Linked DNA regions of Homo sapiens: all the other regions are linked to region 3. The links are contacts of gene promoters, found by promoter capture Hi-C in human tissues and cell types (Jung and others, 2019). All regions are on one chromosome and are shown on one strand. Each heading gives the region's core, a stretch centred on a gene start or on the middle of the fragment in contact. The rest is flanking DNA. Distances are from core to core; before and after follow the strand shown.

The links. The method cuts DNA at HindIII sites, captures the fragments that hold promoters and counts their contacts. A contact is called where the count stands out against the background at its distance.
Region 1: a fragment that was not itself captured here is called in contact with the fragment with the promoter of NBAS in region 3 in 2 of the 25 tissues and cell types used here (lymphoblastoid cells and thymus).
Region 2: a contact is called between a fragment that was not itself captured here and the fragment with the promoter of NBAS in region 3, in 2 of the 25 tissues and cell types used here (H1 embryonic stem cells and hippocampus).

The regions. Positions count from the first base shown.
Region 1 is chr2:14,941,639-14,945,028 of GRCh38, forward strand. It overlaps a transcript of NBAS not described here. Among named protein-coding and RNA genes, the nearest start is that of LRATD1, 310 kb to the left of the region's middle. The HindIII fragment of the contact is 3,821 bases long and covers 1-3,390 here.
Region 2 is chr2:14,982,855-14,986,600 of GRCh38, forward strand. It overlaps a transcript of NBAS not described here. Among named protein-coding and RNA genes, the nearest start is that of LRATD1, 350 kb to the left of the region's middle. The HindIII fragment of the contact is 6,561 bases long and covers 1-3,746 here.
Region 3 is chr2:15,559,096-15,562,837 of GRCh38, forward strand. NBAS (NBAS subunit of NRZ tethering complex) reads right to left here and starts at 2,239. Exons shown (of 52, transcript NM_015909.4): 1 at 2,093-2,239. The coding sequence starts at 2,209. LOC105373440 (a long non-coding RNA gene) reads left to right here and starts at 3,053. Exons shown (of 4, transcript XR_001739297.2): 1 at 3,053-3,088. RefSeq lists an enhancer at 2,029-2,438. The HindIII fragment of the contact is 7,047 bases long and covers 1-3,742 here.

The DNA of each region.
Region 1 (3,390 bases), core at 455-2,954, 620 kb before region 3:
TCACCCGCTCCCACAGAGGACTACACTCAATTAGGAGATTGTTAAACCCAATTGTCATAGCGACAAATTATCTGATTGTTGAGATTTTCTGCTGATTTTGTCTTAGGAATTGGTCTCCTATTTTCAGCCACAGATTGTTATCAGACTGCGGATTTAGCATCTTCATTTCCTTCCACATCCTTGATTATTCTGGTCTCTGCTTTCTTGACTGACTTCAATATGCAAACATAATACCCACAGAGAAAGAGGGGGAGGCTCTCTACTGGTTGGAGGATGAGTTACAATGTTCATTGCTTCTTTTCTCCAATGGGTAGGTTTGCTTTTTCTCAGACTAGTTGGGAACATATCCAGCAGCTTCTCAGGTATTCCCAACTGCAAACCGTTGAGTACCAAATTGAGACACGATGGTTCTAGAAATTCTCTTCCAAACCCCTTATTTTACAATATAGAAACTGAGGTCTAGAAAGAAGGGTGATTTTCCAAAAGTTTATCAGAGAGTTGAAGCTAAAGCCAAAATAACTATTCTACCTCGTTCAGGATAATTTTGTATTGGTATTCAAGAGCTGCCAGTTATCTAGAAGGCACCCTGATATGGTTTGGGTCTGTGTCCCCACCAAATCTCGTGTCAAATAGTAATTCCCAATGTTAGAGGTAGGGCCTGGTGGAAAGTGATTGGATCATGGGAGTGGATTTCTCATGAGTAGTTTAGTGCCACCCCTCTTGGTACTGTCCTCATGATAGTGAGTTCTCATGAGATCTGTTTAAAAATTATGTAGCACCTCACCCCTCACTCTTTTCTTCCTGCTCCAGCCATGTGACATGTCTTTTCCCCCTTCCCCTTCCACTGTGATTGTAAGTTTCCTGAGGCTTCCTCAGAAGCTAAGCAGATGTCAACATCATACTTCCTGTACAGCCTGTGGAACCATGAGCCAATTCAACTTCTTTTCATTATAAATTACCCAATTGCAGGTATTCCTTTATAGAAATGAGAGAATGGACTAATACAGACTCTAACTCCCACTCCCTGTGGGGAAAGGTGGAGTGTCACAGCTAAAGCCTAAACCCCCTATTGACACAAGGAGAAGCCAAGGACCACAGAAAGGAAGATATTACACAGTCTAGTCAGGCCTGGCCCAAGCACATAGTAGAGGCTCAACTCATCACAGCTGAGTCTCAATCTGTAGAGAAAAATGACTTTCACCTATGCTTAAAGTATTGTTAGAAGTGTAGTCCTTTTCTTTGGACTCCAAGCCCCATAATAAAAGGCAAGACCTGGTTTCTACTATTGCAAAAGGAGAGCCAGGGACCTCTCTGCAGATCTGCCTTCTTCTCTGAATATACCTCCCTCAGCAAAGGGAACGCAAAGGTGGGTCTCCTTATGGTTTTATTATGGCTAATGAACAGCATGTTCTCTCTTTCCTCATTCTCAGCATGAGGCTATTAGCATATTCCCCAGGCTTTTGCCCTCCAAATTTGGAAGCACATGCATAAATTATCAAATGAGCCGTTCTAATGCAAAGCTTCTAGTCATGTTCCTAATCAGGGACTCTCAATGACTCACCAAAACCTTCAGAATGAAAGGCCACCGGATACACTTGTAGCAAGCTTTACTACATCTGCATCAAAGAACCACTTTATCCCCTTAATTCCATGCATGAGCAGAACTAAAAGAGCCACTAATAATTTTATCTTACCAATTTCATGTATATTTTCATGTTACAGCCTAACTTTAACCCAGAGGCTGGAAACATTCTTCTTTACTGACAAATAAAAAAGCGTATCTGCTGTAAAATTGCCTTCTGACTGTAATTCCTAAAAGCTACCTAATTGCATTGCAGTGTCAACCTAGAAAATTCATACAATCACAGAATATAATATTTGGAAGAAAACATTCAGGGTAATTTACATTATTAATGCATCACCTTCCAGTAATTAGCACAGTTCTTTGTACATAAATATTCAAGACCACTTTATTATTAATTAATAACCCTTACCCTTGTTTTACATCTGTGAAAACTGAGTCTCAGATATAAGTAGTGATTTGCCTGAGCTCACAAATGTTGGAGTCAGAATTGAAACCTAGGTGTTCAGATTCTTAGGAACTTTGTTTCTTTTATTATGTCTCTGATAGAATCGCTTCTATTTTTATTAATTTTTTAAACTTCATGACTATAACCTCAAAGTAAATTATTTTCCAATAGGATTTGAGAAAGCCCCATGATTCCTTTTTTGCAAGCACAGCAAACAAGGAGTAGGCACCATCTCACCAAGTCCCAAAGAAGGAACCACATTGGTCCACAAAGTTCCCCCTGCTTCTCCAGGAAGCTATGAGGATGATTGCTCCATTCGTTCAACCAAATAAAAAAAACTACTAATCCCTGCCAGGTGCGGTGGCTCACGCCTGTAATCCCAGCACTTTGGGAGGCCGAGGCGGGCGGATCACGAGGTCAGGAGATCGAGACCATCCTGGCTAACGCAGTGAAACCCCGTCTCTACTAAAAAATACAAAAAATTAGCCGGGCATGGTGGCGGGCGCCTGTAGTCCCAGCTACGCGGGAGGCTGAGGCAGGAGAATGGCGTGAACCCGGGAGGCGGAGCTTGCAGTGAGCCGAGATCGATCGCACCACTGCCCTCCAGCCTGGGCGACAGAGTGAGACTCCGTCTCAAAACAAAAAACAAAAAAACAAAAAAACAAAAAACTGCTAATCCCTGCTATGAATCCTGCACAGTGTAAAGTGCTTCACTTCAAGTATCTCATTTATTTTTCACCCCAACCCTACAAGGTCGGTACTCTTCTCCAACACGTCCTTGACACAACTGGTAAGAAGCATACACAGGATCACACAGCCCATCATTGATACAGCTGTGACTTGAACCTTGGTGACTTTCAGTGATATGAGTTCACTTTCCATGAAGGTATTAAAAGAACAGTGAGATTTCTGGTTCCAAAATGGTGGCATACAAGCAAGCTGACATCACTAGCCCTTACAGAAAATCAAAAAATGAACATATGGCACAAGATTATCACCAGCAATCTTTCAAAACTCAAATATGAAGACGAGACAGTCCTCAGGGACACAGAAAGTGAAAAGTGAAAGAAAAAAAAAAAACTCTGAACAGATGGTAAGAGAATCAGGCTTCCACATTCACAATGTCCCTCCCCCCATTCTGCCCAGCACCAAGTGAGCAGAAAATTTTTACCCAATTCACAGTTTCTATACCGGAAATGGTGATTGCCCACCTGAATCTCACTTTCCCCACTATCTTGGGTGTCCTGGCAGGACACTTGCCTCTGCCGTAATGCAGGAGAAGCATCATGAGTGCCTGAAGGGAAAAATGTCCCTGTGACAGGCAAAGACAAAGTGAAGAGGGAGGGCGACCATCCCCATC
Region 2 (3,746 bases), core at 1,238-3,737, 580 kb before region 3:
AAGAGGTTGGGGCAGGAAATAAGAAGGGAAAGGATGTACCAGAGCTAAATAGAAACAGAGGTAAACATCAGAAAAAATATCAAAAAGAGTACATAATTATCTGTGGAAAGAGGAACCAGGTACGGGAGGAGTAGGTCACGGTGCTACCACTTCCATTGTAAGCAGAACAGGGACATAGAATCTTTAGGCTACACCACTTGCTTAACTGTCAGCTCCACCACTTATTAGGTCTTTGAACTCAGGCAACTAAATTAACCTCTTCATGTCCCAGTGTCCCATCTGTAAGACAGAGACAATACTACTAAGTTGCTGTGATTATTAAATGAGTTCGGATGTATAAAACATTTAGAACTGTGCCTGACACATGTGAGTGCATGCCATGTGTTTTCTATTAGTACATCCAGCCTTTTAGCCTCATTGGATTTTAATCCAGGTGCAAGAACTACTTTGAGAAAAACGAAAGTTAACTTAAAAAATTAAAAATTCTAAAATGAATCCAGAAATTAGAGACTTGCTTGCAAGCCTTTCTCATATTCTCGACTGAGTGTATAGGTCCATAGAAAAAGTTTGATGCAATTTCTTTATTTCTAAAGTGAGCATGATACCTTGTCTCACAGGGCGGCAAGGAGAATCAAATCCGTTAATACGTTTGCAATAACTAAAACAACTCCAGGCATGTAATAAGGGCCCAAATATAAGTCCCCAACCCACTACCCAAATTTCAGAACATTTTATCAACAAAAAATACAATCAATGAAGAAAAGTTAAAGCAATAGGATTACTTGGCAAGGGTAAGAAAAGTTTGAGGGACAGAATTAATAACTGCCAAATTATCTACATAGAGAAGGTGTTTGCTGTCCATCTTCAGGGAAAGGGATAGAAGAAAGTACTCCAGGTTTGAGATAAAGGAAGACTTTGGTCTTGTGAAGGAACATTAAACATACAAATGGATTATGAAAGGAGGCATTAAAAACCCCTTCGTGGGAGTTTTAAAAGCAGAACTTGATTCTGTGGTTTAGGATGAGTTTCCAGTGCTCCTGGCAACACAGGAGTCATGGACAACAAGACTTCTGCTGTCAGAATCCGCGATTCATTGAACATAAATATTTGCCCACGTATGTGGGGCTTCCGAGGGGGCGTGCCAACCCTGGTTCTTTAATGAGGCAGAATCCCATTAAAAAATGCAATTTCAGAACATTTTATCAACAAAACAATATATAACCAATGAAGAAAACTTAAAAGCATTAGGATTATTTGACAAGGGTAAGAAAATGGCTGACACCATAGTCAGCCATTCAGCGCCCTCTGCCCAAGCCCCACGATGTACCTGGTTTTCCTTCACTCCTCATCTTTTCTCTAGTTTCATCCTTTAACTCCACGCCCTGACTTTAGTCTCTGCCCCCTACCCTTCCTAGATTCAGCTCTGTTCACTACCTCCTTATGGGCACTGAGACCTTGGCAATTCTCTATGACTCCCATGCCTTCAAGGTGAGACTTTTGCACTTCGGCTAGTAGACTAGATCATTAGAAGGTGAAACAAGGGCAATTTCCAAGTCAGTGTAAAACAAATGAATACATTAAAGGTTGTGTGTTTTCAGCGTAAAACAAATGAATACATTAAAGGGCGTGTGTGAGCACTGACTTAGTTGGGAAATAAGTGAGCTGAAGCGGAATTTGAAAGTCCCTCTAAGTGAACTACTTTAGAGGTATAGAATGCATCTCTAGATACAGTAAATACAACTGCTTATATGTCAGACTCCAGTTCTATTTCTAGCCCAGCACTAATTCTGTCCCTCTCCCTATACTTCCCTCCATATTCCCCATCCCACCCCTTTCTCCACCCCCAGAAGAGTTGATGTGATCACAGAAGAGTTAATTCGAGTTGGTCATTTTCCATCCAGAATGCTGATTAGTCATGAACATCATGTGAAAGGTCATATGCATGAACGTAGGCAGGTCTTTTCCTACCTACTTCCAAGTGGCTGGATGTGTAGGCTGAGTGGGGACCTGAAAGCCCCAGCCTGTGAGATGCCTCAGAGTGGTGGTGGGTGAGGTGTTAGACCCTACGAGCAGGCAGGCAGCAGAAGAGCAAATGAGCAAGTCCCTGTGCAATTAGGAAGGTGTCATCTTTTGGAACTCAGGATGGCGGCCCAAGTTCATGAAAACTTCGTGAAATTATCATAAATAAAGGCATAAGTGAGAAATATAAAAACCCATGTCTGGAATACTATTGTTCAAAGGGCAGCTGTCAGAGCAGAGGTAAATGTACAGTGACGGGCTGGGAAGGCTTCGGAATTGGTATATTTGCAGAACACTATTGTTTACACAGGGAACGCCAGCAACAGAAGAAATAGATCCGATTTTAAAAACAGATTTTGGTCCTATAATGAGAAGAGGGATTAAAGAAAAAAGGAAAGAGAAAACACTGTCATCCAGGAAACACTGTCAGTCCTGCCCAGGTTAAAGGAAAAATTAGAACAACTTCAGGAACAAGTCAAAAATTTTAAACATACTTGGGCTAGCCTGAAAAACATAAGGTAGCAAGAGAAAACTAGAGAACTGGAAACATATCCCGCAGCTGCGAACAGCAGAGACGATAGGAAGTAAAGCTTCTAGTGACAGTAAAGTGGAATAAGATAAAGTCAGACAACTAAATAGCTGAGAAAAGGCAAGATGTTGGACAAGAGTGTATAAAAAATATAAATCGTTTCCTCTGAGTCCCCAAGATCTCAGACTATGAAGCAATAACTGCTGTTTCAATGCAGAAATCTATTGAGGACAGGGGCTCTTTCCATACATTTGTATTAGAGGAGTTAAAATTGTAATTGTTGGTTTAAATGTCTAGAAGCTAGTGGGGTACCTAATAAAGATATTCACTGAATTTAAAAATATTACATACATGGCTTCCACTTTGAATTTCTGAATCCTTTATACTTGATTTTGAGACTGCTTTAATATAAAAAAATCAAATGCAGTTAAAATTGCATTATTAATTCTGAAAAGGTATGTGAAAATTAGGGTGTTTACATGTCATATAGTGGGTGCACTTAGGAATCTCAAGTGTACTGATGATCTAAAACCAGTTTCTGACATTAACCACACAATCTTCCATGGCATTCTCTAGGTAGAGATCAGTAAAACTATGGCCAGAGCCACATGAGTAGTTGAAATAATTAAAGCTCCTTTTAAGCGCAATGCATTTGGTTAGAATTCACATGTAAATTGTGGATGTTAATCATTTTATTAACAAGGTACTATTTTGAGTGTGTGTTTTAGCTAGGAATTATCTTACAAATATCCCAGAGCAAAATTAAATTGCTCATTTTCAGGTGTTTAAATCCCTTACAGGTATATCTTGGGGCAGCATAATTGGGGAAAAAAAAAAACCTGTTTTCAACTAACTAAAAAGATATGGATTGAAATGTTCCATTATAATTCCCATACTAATATCTCCTGCCAACATATAGAGTAGCCCATTAAATCCACAACAGTTCAGATAAAGAATACACTTAACACTACCGAGTATAAGGTTGTTAAACAATTAATCTAATACACTGAACCCTTCTCCCCTAAGAATATAAACTCCAGCTTACGGTACACCTTCAACCAATGGAGAGAAAAGGAGGTTTTCATATATATTACATTTCATTAGTCTCTTCAATTCTCCATCATTTCCTGATTTTTTAAAGAAACCTAACTGAATTATTTCATATAAAGACCTACTTATATTTCACAGTACCAATTTT
Region 3 (3,742 bases), core at 989-3,488:
AGGACGCGGGACAATAGGAGAAAAGTGAGCATAGCAGAGCTACAGGCACATGTCAGGACTAACCTTGCAGGAAAGAACAAGGATTGAAGCTGGAAACTGTTTCCAAATCAAAAACCAATCCAAAGACAAGAGAAGTCAAGGCCAAAGACCATACTGGTTGCCAGTTCAGCATACTCTATTGAGGCTGTAAGTTTTGCTCACAGGAAAAGTGGTCATATCTCCAAGGCCAATTCATTGACTATCTGTTGTGTATCTATACAGACAATGCTACTAACAAAACATACACAGATACGTAATTGCTATATTAAATAATTCCATTCCATAAGTATAGACTGAACACACCGTGGGTAGGTTCATGACGCTAGGCACTGCATAAGATGCACTAAAGTGCTGTCAAGAAAAGCACAATGGACATACAGTAAGTGTAGACAGATTTTTTTAAAAAACACAGAAAAGTTATTTCACTCAATAAACATGAATTGATTGTTGGATTCATGCAAGACACAATTTGGCCCTGGGAAGAGATATAAAGATGAATCAGATGTCTGCCCTCCAAGAGCTTATAATTCAACAGCTGAAATCAACAGAATGCAGAAATCGATAGAATGCAGAAATCAATTGAACTCCCCCACCCCCAACACACAAACACAAAACAAAGTGCTAAGGGTTTCAAAGTAAGTTAATTCTGTGGTTACTTTTTTGGAATCAATTTATGGTAAGCATTCTGAAACATTACTGCAATTAACCAATGAGTGTTAAGGAGTGGAAACTTATCTAACCAGCTGCCTCAGCAACAGCTTCCTAGCTGCATAACCCAAAAAATATTCACATTAAGACAAACTAAGTACTTGAAATTAAACAGTAATATATGCAGATCTCTACCCGTCTACAAAATAAATTATTCATGATAAGCACAAACTGCAGTGGGAAGGAGGCTACAGAGGAAAAAAATACAAACTTTGGGCTGAAAAATGAGTCGTTTCTCCAGCAAAGAAACACTCAGAAAAAATGTAAGATAACTCACATGGGCTGGACTACATAATCTTTAATAAAGGTTCTTTTCGATCTGGCTGCTTCCTCTGGGTCTAAAACAGTAACTGGCACGTGTTAAGCACTCAATAAATATCTGTTAAATAAACATGGATCCAAAAAATAATAATAATAAAAAATAAAATAAAATAAACATGGATCCATGGTTCCTACTCTTCATCACAGACCCGGGAGGCCTTCACTACCAAACAACTGATAATCCCAAGATCCAGTCCATAAATTATCAACCTCTATAACCCTTCTGTAGCGGAGATCCCAATCCCAGTCAGCAGCTCTTTACTCTGCACTTCCGTGGCATTTTGCTCACATCGCTAACTATAGCGCATAAAACGCTAGGTTATGAAAAACGTTTACGGGACTGTCTCCCCTCTAGACGAGAAGCTCCACGAAAACATATTCATCTCTGTATCCTTAGCACCTAGCACAGCACCTGTGACACCGAGACAGACGAACGGACACGCACACCCTTATTAAATGCTCTTTTATTGAAACACACAAGACCTGGCGCGATCCAGCCCCCAGTATGGGTAAAGGCTCAGATTCTGCGCTCTGCACCAGCCTGGCAGATGCTGCAGACTGTAAGGTCCTGGAAAATTCTCCCATCGCAGTTGAGCGTCGGCCCAGACTAGCCCTAGCCAGACCGCGAGAAGGGACCACTGAGGGTCCAGATAGGAGAAAGGACCCTCGAGTCCAGCGCTGTGCCTTCCCCTCCTAATACAGAGAGCGACACTAACAATCCCCTCTCCTCCCAATACAGAGAGCGAAACTGAGAACCAAAGTGGGATCGTACGCTCCCCAGAGCACGAAGTTCCAGCCCCCAACAACCGAATTCTGAGCCCAGGAAGAATCTCAGGGACCACCACCCCACCCCGCCCTAGACCCCCGCTAGCCCAAGGTGCCGTTGCCAAGGCGACCGCACAAGCCAACCGGCCCTAGTCCCCCACCCACCCGTCTCCACTCCCCTACGTGGCTCCTGCTACGTGGCTCTACCCACGAAGCGCCCGCGCCAAGCTGGCTGCTGCTGTAGATGGGCCTGGTTCACCTGTACTTCAGTCTCCGGTGGCCACTCGGTGTTGACCAACAAGTCATAGAGAATCGTCTCCTCCTCACCCTCTGCAGTGCCTGGACTCAAAGCCGGCCCTGACTCGGGGGCCGCCATGTTCGCCGAGGACTCAGGCAGCGGAGGAGTGTCTCTACGGAATCCCTCACAGGACAAGCTTCTCTATCCGCGGCCGCTTTTGTTTCACGGCAAGGAAATGCTAGGTTAACCCTTTTATGAGTAGGAAGGACAGGGACTATTGCTTGTCTTGGGAACGACTTGTGTCCCGGTCCTGATACACTCCTTGTTCATTAATCTACATGAGATCGGCCAAGTCATTGAGCCTCTCTTATAACTCAGTTTCCATAAAACAGAAATGGTAAAGGTACCCCACTGAAATGCTAATGTTCATTTGTATATTCTTTGCCTAACACGTAGAGAGAGTTCAAACAGTGGTTTTAAAATAAACAACTAAAGTTATCCAATGAAAGGTAGCAGAGGAAGGATGCTACAGGAGCTCAGAAAAGGCAACGAAGGCCAGAGTCTGCAGGGATTTCCTGGAGGACGTGGAGCTTGTCCCTGCGTCTTTAACAATAGGCAGAATTTTAATCTACTGGAGAAGCATTTCAAGTAGCGGGAAATGGAATGAGCAGAGACAGAGGCAGAAATACAGAGTTGAAAGAACTCTTTCAACGTGTCGCCAGTGAGTGACGACTTTCTCAGTGTGGGAGTAAAAGAATTTACCAAGACAGTGGTAGATAAAGAAAGACAGATTAAAGAAAGTATGAAAGTTCGTTGCCAGGGAGCAGCGGGCCGACTCAGCAGAGGAGGAGCTCATTGCTAGGAAACAAAGGCTTGTTGAGAATTTTATAGACTGGAACTTGGAGTGATTGATAACACCAGGTAGCAGGGAGTTAACTTGCTTTTTTTTTTTCTTTCTTTCTTTTTTTTTTTTTTTTTTTGTCAGCTGAAGTGTTTCAGAAATTGAGGCATTTGAAGGTAAGCAGGAAGTTTGTGAGTTAAGTACGTTATCTGGGTAGAAGGGCCATATGTCCTGGGCCATAAAGAAAAGTAGACCTATGGCTTATTTGTTTCTTCCTTTTGTTTATATGTTTTGGACCATGAAGAAAGACAGACGTATAGCTAATTTGCCTTATCTCTTTGTTTTTCCCTGCTCCCACTAGCCTGCCTTTTTTTTTTTCCTAATTAGTACTCAACAAGACGGGTGAATAGAACCCAAGTTGAGAAAGGGTGTAGGGGCAATAAAGTTGAAATAATAGGTTGAGAACCCGCATGGAGGGAGCGAAAAGGTCAACCCCATTTGTTCATTCATTCATTCATTCAACAAATACCTCTTTGTGGACAGTTATAAGCAGAGCCTACTGTAACATGAATGAATATATACTGTACAAAGTATTACACTGTTTCACATCAAAAGAAACACAAATACTGAATATCCCTTGAGATAATTATATTCATGATATCCATCAAGATGCATTAGGCGGTGATGCAATTAAAAGCCTCTGCTGGGAAGCCTCTAACCAGCTCCCATTTCTCTCAAAGTTTAATGACCTCAAAGCCCTACGTCATCTGCCTGCTCCCCTAAATCTCACACCTCATTTCCTGCTCCCCCTACTACCTTCAGCCACACTG